2 separate regions of the Homo sapiens genome follow, and region 2 is linked to region 1. The links are contacts of gene promoters, found by promoter capture Hi-C in human tissues and cell types (Jung and others, 2019). All regions are on one chromosome and are shown on one strand. Each heading gives the region's core, a stretch centred on a gene start or on the middle of the fragment in contact. The rest is flanking DNA. Distances are from core to core; before and after follow the strand shown. Region 1 holds the start of KLHL42 (kelch like family member 42). Region 2 has its middle 190 kb from the start of FAR2.

Region 1 (3,504 bases), core at 556-3,055:
TTTTTAACCCTTTCTCCTTCCTAAGGTAAAATGTTAGCATGGTAGGATGTATCTTCTTTAAATAGGGGAAATGTACTTATGAAGAAGATATTATTTAACAATCTGTCATTCAAGAAGAAAGCTGAAGCTTGTAATAATAAAAAAAAAAACCAAACACATATTCTCTCCAAGTTAAGGACTGTTTATCATAGGTGGTTCTCAAATCTTGGTTTGGGGTAAGTTTTCAAGGTTTTCTGTTTTTGTTTTGTAAGATAAGAGTGAACACACCCTCTGCTTCCTCCCAATCCTTCTCCCTTCTCCTACCCAAAGATAATCCAAACAATATATTTCTCCCCCCACCCCCTTCCTGGGATGAATTCATTAGCAAGACAAAAAGTCCTTCCTATTATTATTTGGGGTGGGCCTTCTAATTGCAATGTTCAGTGAGAGAACATAGGAAACAAGTGGTCTCTCTTTTCCGAGACGGCGTCTCGCTCTGTCGCCCAGGCTGGAGTGCAGTGGCGCGATCTCGGCTCACTGCAACCTCCGCCTCCCGGGTTCCAGCAATTCTCCTGCCTCAGCCTCCCGAGTAGCTGGGATCACAGGCGCGTGCCACCACGCCCGGCTAATTTTTGTATTTTTAGTAGAGACGGGGTTTCACCATGTTGGCCATGGTGCTCTCGAACTCCTGACCTCGTGATCTGCCCACCTGGGCTTCCCAAAGTCATGGGATTACAGGCGTGAGCCACCGCGCTCAGCCAAACCGCACGTGTGGTCTCTCTTAATAGTCCTCAGATGATGGGGGCAGGGTAGGTGGAGAAAGGGGGTGACAAGAAAAGCTACTTCTTGCAGACATTTATGAGCCAATTTTGTCAGATCTTTTGCGCCAGGATAACATTCCGTAATGGACTGGACTGAAGTAGAAAAGCAATGGCTCATAGAAAACATGGTTTAAAACCAGAAGCCACGTGATGTAACTTTATTTAGTCGGGCTGCGCTTTCATCTTTCTTTTAATAACTTAGGGAGAATAAGGGGCCCCAGTGGCAAATGCAAGCTCCCCTGCCTCCCAACCCGATTCCTCTGAGAACCTGCTGCCATCTGCCTGGACCTCCTGTAAGATGGCTCCTACGCGACCACGCTACCAGAGAATCAGCTCTACGTGCCACCAACATTGCCACCAACTGTCCATAGATCGCCTGCGTGCCTCAGCCCACTGACACTCGATGCCGGACTGGGCCAGAAGGACGACCCCATATTTGATGCCTTTTTGTCTCCCTGGACCAGAGACTCCATCCTTCCCTTTCCTCCCACGCTCATTTCTTTTTCTTTAGCCCGTGTAAAGCAGCGTGGGAGAGAAAACGAATTTCTTCTCCCTGGGGTACCCCGGAGCATCACTGCAGCCCCCAACAAGCGGCGGAGCCGGCGCGCCCCGGGCGGGCGGAGAGGCTGCGGGGACGCGCGCCCTCCGCCTCCCGCAGCTGCGCGTCCGCAGCCGAGGCGCCCGGGCCCGCAGCTTCCCGGGCCTCCCCGAGAGCCGGATCCAGCCGGCAGGTCAGGCCGGCGGCTGGGGTCCCGCGGGCGGAAGTGAGAAGGGCGGCGGGGGAGGAGGCTGCTGGCTGGGAGCTGGAATTCCCTTCCCGCCTGGCGCCGCCCGGGAGAGCCCGCGCGAGGACGCCCGCCGCGCTCCGCCGGCCCTTTTTTGGCGCTGAGGGAAAGGAGAAGGGCAGGGCCGCCGCCTCGCGGGAGCGGGCCCCGGGAGGAGGGGCCGCCGGAGAGGCCGGGCGAGCGCGGGCGGCCCTCACCTCGCCGCTCCTCCCGGGCCGCCATCCCTCGGCGCCCCGCCCGGAACCGGCGCGCGCGTAGGGGCTGGGAGGCCGGCGCGCAGATCTGGCGGTGAGCGCTGCCGCCCCGGGGCCCCCAGCCATGTCGGCCGAGGAGATGGTGCAGATCCGCCTGGAGGACCGCTGCTACCCGGTGAGCAAGAGGAAGCTCATCGAGCAGAGCGACTACTTCCGCGCCCTCTACCGCTCCGGCATGCGCGAGGCCCTGAGCCAGGAGGCCGGCGGCCCGGAGGTGCAGCAGCTGCGCGGCCTCAGCGCGCCGGGCCTGCGGCTGGTGCTGGACTTCATCAACGCCGGCGGGGCCCGCGAAGGCTGGCTCCTGGGCCCGCGCGGGGAAAAGGGCGGCGGGGTGGACGAGGACGAGGAGATGGATGAGGTGAGCCTGCTGTCCGAGCTGGTGGAGGCGGCCTCCTTCCTGCAGGTCACGTCCCTGCTGCAGCTGCTGCTGTCCCAGGTGCGGCTCAATAACTGCCTGGAGATGTACCGCCTGGCGCAGGTGTACGGGCTGCCCGACCTGCAGGAGGCCTGCCTGCGCTTCATGGTCGTCCACTTCCACGAGGTGCTGTGCAAGCCCCAGTTCCACCTCCTGGGGTCTCCTCCCCAAGCTCCAGGGGATGTCAGCCTGAAGCAGAGGCTGAGGGAGGCCCGGATGACTGGGACTCCTGTCCTCGTGGCCCTCGGGGACTTCCTGGGGGGACCCCTGGCCCCTCACCCCTACCAGGGGGAGCCCCCGTCCATGCTCAGGTACGAGGAGATGACTGAGCGTTGGTTCCCGCTGGCCAACAACCTTCCTCCCGACCTGGTCAATGTCAGGGGCTATGGGTCTGCCATCCTGGACAACTACCTCTTCATAGTGGGCGGGTACAGGATCACTAGCCAGGAGATCTCCGCTGCGCATTCCTACAACCCCAGCACCAACGAGTGGCTCCAGGTGGCCTCCATGAACCAGAAGAGGTAAGCACCCCGGCAGAGTGCTGCTGCCTTCTCATTCATTCACTTGTTCATTAGTTCATTACCCCAGTGTTTACTGAGCCAGTAAATAGGGGAGGGTGTGCTGTGGTGGAAATGACATCTTCAGGAATGTTGTTGGCCTTGGCGCTGGCAAAATTCCCAATGAACTAAGAAATTGCGAAGAGGACGTCCCCAGTGAGGTCAAGAAGTGGAGTGGTTTTTTGGCAGGTATTGTGCCTTTAGGTGAAACTGCTTTCTTTGCCTCTGTTCTTGTGAAAAAAGATGTTGTGGTTTCCTACAAGAATACTTTAAAAGAAAATTGCCCCTTAATTTTTAAAAAATTTGTCTTAGTTTTTAGGATTTGATCCTGATGATAATGATACACTGGACAGTAACCTGTAACACTGACTTTGGGGGATTTTTTTCTGATGTCAGTGACTGTGACAACAGAGTCTTCCACACTGTGATACCCATCATGATCAAGAGATAATCACTGGAAATGTATTAACGTTTGCAATAGGGGTTGCTTTTCTTATTTTTTATCCTCTCTTTTGCTTCCTTCCCTGGACAGCCATCGTCATGACCCACAGCTTGAGCCTGGAAGTGTTCAACTACAGAATTGGAATATTTTCATTTACGCAACCTTCTCCCCCTCCCATCCTGCAAATCTCTCCTGCCTCCAACAAGGGTGACTTGAAGAAAGGAAGAGGAGGAGCTTGAGGAGTGGGATGA
Region 2 (3,504 bases), core at 489-2,988, 1.2 Mb after region 1:
CAAGATTCTGCCAGCCCTCTTGAGTTTCTGACATCTTCCATTAGTAAGTATGCCCCAGGTAGGCATAGATCCTGTGGACTGGGCCCTAGAATGAGAAAACGTGGACTGTAGTCTAGAGCCAAATCCAGCTAAACCCAGGAAAGCTTAGCCAAAATCCAGGAGAAACATTCCTAAACTGCAGACTCATGAGCAAGAAATACATGTTTATTGGTATAAGCCGCTAAGATCTAGGGCTTGTTTGGTACACAGCAACATTGTAGCAAAACTGACTGATACACCAACTTCAAACTCTGTTCTTCACCTTAGATTCTATCTTCCATTCTATCATCTCCACATATACCAACATTTCCCTTCCTCACTTATTCTTCCTATTTCCTTTCCCTCCTCTAACTTTATAAATTCTAGATCAAGCTCCCATCTATACATAAAGCTTTCTTTGACTTTTTACACTCTCTCAATATTCCCTTGGGCTTAATATAGATGGAAAGAAATACCTTGTATTTTCTTTCCAAATTATTTCAGTTTTAATTATATAATTGATGCATATTTCCTTAAAGGTCTATATTATGACACCCTATTGAGGAAGCTGTTTATAGAGGTGATAGAAAGAACCTGGGCTTTGAGTCAAAAAACTGTGGTTCAAATCTTGCTTCTGCCCCTTGCTTGCCTTATAAACTCGAGCAAGCTATATAACCTGTCTGAATGTCAGTTTCTTCATCCTTAAAATGGTGGCTATAATACCAGATTCAGAGGAAAGATTAAATAAGATGAGGTATAGTATATGCTCTCTATCCCTTCCTCTCTAGGTTCATTTACCCCCAGCCCACCCCAACCATTTAATATTATTCCTTCTGTTCTGATGCAATAAGACCATTTCATGAAGATGTCTGAAATAGTTTGGAGATTTTACATGCATCTTTCTCAGATAGGTGAAGTTAAGTCAATTACCTTCCAACATTTATGCAACATCAAATTTAGTACAGAACTACAAAGAGCCATGTTAATTACAGTAGAAATTCGAGGCATATTTTCTTATTTTGGCAATTTAATAGTATAGCCTAGAAGTCAAACTAGCTAACACACTTTGAAAGAATTAGAAAATAGCTAAGGAACAAATTGTGCAATCCAGACACTTTGAAATTCAATAAAAATTAGGTAATCCAAGTGGTATAAAAACTGAAGAAGCTTTCAAGAAGAAACTTGGGTTGAATGTTTAAATATCTGTAAAGCTAAGATAGAAGGTTGAAGGAGGGGTGTTCCAGGTTGGTTGTGAGTAACATCAGTGAAGCCCACTGGAGGAGGAAAGGCATGACTTATGCAAAGACGTTGGAAAGATAAATCTGTAAGAATGAACATATGGGCCAACCAGAAGACAAAATGAAATTAGTCTGGTATAGTGGAGCCAGAGTAGGACAAACCAGGAAAAATTAGTAGTGTGTTATGTTGTTGCCAAGAGTAAACTATGTACTTGGGCAGAACAATGGCCTAAAGGATAGATACATGATAGAGGTAGCTTATTAGTCTCCCAGCTTTTGATTATTGTACAAAAGTATTTTGCATTTGTTATCGCCTTTTCTACTGTTCTATCCCCACACCCCAGATGCTGTAATACATTTCTTCTAGTCATTAATCAAACTGATATATGTAGCCTTTTAATAAACCTAAGAACTTCAATAAATAAGAATCTTTTGAAATAACTTTTTTAAAAAATAAAATAATTATTTGATAGCACAACAGGGTAACTGTAGTCAATAATAATTATACATTTTAAAGTAACTTAAATAGTGTAATTGGATTGTTTGCAACTCAATGGATAAATACTTGAGGGGATGGATACCCCATTCTCCATGATGTGCTTATTTCACATTGCATGCCTGTATCAAAACATCTCATGTACCTTATAATATATACACTTACTATGTACCCACAAAAATTAAAAATTAAAAACATAAATAAATAAGTCTTTAACATTTAGAGTTTATTAGTCCTTATTTCTTCTCTCCATCCCCTATACACAGAGGAAGAGAGTGGAGGAAGATGTGGGTAATTATATAAATCTATATCATGATGAAATATTACAATATGAAATAACTTGAAAAATCTTTGTATCATGATGATCTTTCTCATTTGGGATAAATTATATTTACAAGTTTATCATGCATATACATTGTATGTTTGCAAGTTAGATTTTATCTTTTTTATTTGTGAATGTGTCTTAAAGATGATTTTTTTTCAAATAACTATACATTCTAGATGGTAATAAGAGTTTATTTTAAAAGCACTTCTCATAATACAGATAGAGGGATTGAGGTTTGTACTTCTTTGAGAAATGTACTTTTGTCTCTCTAATATTGTTTGCTGAGGAGATCAGAAAGCCCTGGGCTGTAATTTACTCTTTTCTTTGTCCGTCATAAGGAGGGAGACCACTATTTCTTTTGAAATTTCTTGGCTTTTCTAACATATCTGAAAACAAAAGAAGGGGGAAATCTGCTTACTTACTTTGCCAAAATGAGAGTCAGATATTACTATGTATCGGCCAGAAGATAGACTTCACGGTAACAGTAGGAAAAAAACTGATTTATTGGTCAAAAGAGAGATGACACACACTGTTTTGTTTCATTGTCTTTTTCCTTTACTAAAACCTCTTTTATCTCTTCCTAAACTTGAGTCATGGTGACATTAAGACCTCCAGTTTGACTGCCAAATCTTTAAATGATCCCATTCATGCCATCCCAATGCTGTGTGGTAGGGGCAAGTTCAGTCCAGTGTTTCCAGGCTCTGAAGTTGGATTATATTGCTTTCCTTTTCCTGCTGTACAGCATGTGGGCAAGAACCCAAAAACTTAATGGAAATTTTTCTGTCTTAAATCTTCTGAAACTAGTTACCTTTGAGGTCAATGAACTCAATACCCAGAGGGAGAAAAAAAGGCTGATTACAGAATAACGGAAATGTTGTTACAATGGATATTTGCATACTGAGTAAACTTGCTCAGGGGATCCTATCTGACCAAAAACAGCCAAAATAACCAATATTGGGAGGGCTAAAGAAAAGAATAACATGCTCTATGCCTGACCTACAAAATTTGAACATGCACTATATTAGAAATAAACGTATAATGAATCTCTTTGAATTTAGATAGTTTCTGCTCCTAAAACTTTGAGAAATATAGATTTTGAGTTTTACCGTAAACCACTCTCAAGAGGAACATGAGACCATCACTATCCCTGGTGCTACAAAGGAAAACTCAAGAGAAATCTTAGGGAAGCGGAGGGAAAAAATCTGATTGTGACAATGAATATTGTGACTATAGGTAAAGCTGTTGAGTCTAATCTTTGAGGATTCGCCTTTTCCCAGTTCATTCCAACCCAACTTCTTCATTTCACCCCAAAGTCTCCCTCTCCAGACCTCACCTCTCTTGACCAACTCTGTCTTTCTCTTTCTTATGAGAATTACATGCCCAAGTCATGAGATTTTCATATTCTTTGGCAATTTTTAGATGATAAC

The links. Contacts are between HindIII fragments. The study calls those that stand out against the background at their distance.
Region 2: a contact is called between a fragment that was not itself captured here and the fragment with the promoter of KLHL42 in region 1, in 1 of the 25 tissues and cell types used here (dorsolateral prefrontal cortex).

Annotation. Positions count from the first base shown.
Region 1 is chr12:27,778,428-27,781,931 of GRCh38, forward strand. KLHL42 (kelch like family member 42) reads left to right here and starts at 1,806. Exons shown (of 3, transcript NM_020782.2): 1 at 1,806-2,775. The coding sequence starts at 1,904. It overlaps MANSC4 (MANSC domain containing 4), which reads right to left and starts at 1,809. Exons shown (of 4, transcript NM_001146221.5): 1 at 1,783-1,809. RefSeq lists silencers at 1,408-1,627, 1,648-1,957 and an enhancer at 1,823-2,322. The HindIII fragment of the contact is 9,315 bases long and covers 1-3,504 here.
Region 2 is chr12:28,959,362-28,962,865 of GRCh38, forward strand. No RefSeq gene overlaps it. Among named protein-coding and RNA genes, the nearest start is that of FAR2, 190 kb to the right of the region's middle. The HindIII fragment of the contact is 4,562 bases long and covers 1-3,504 here.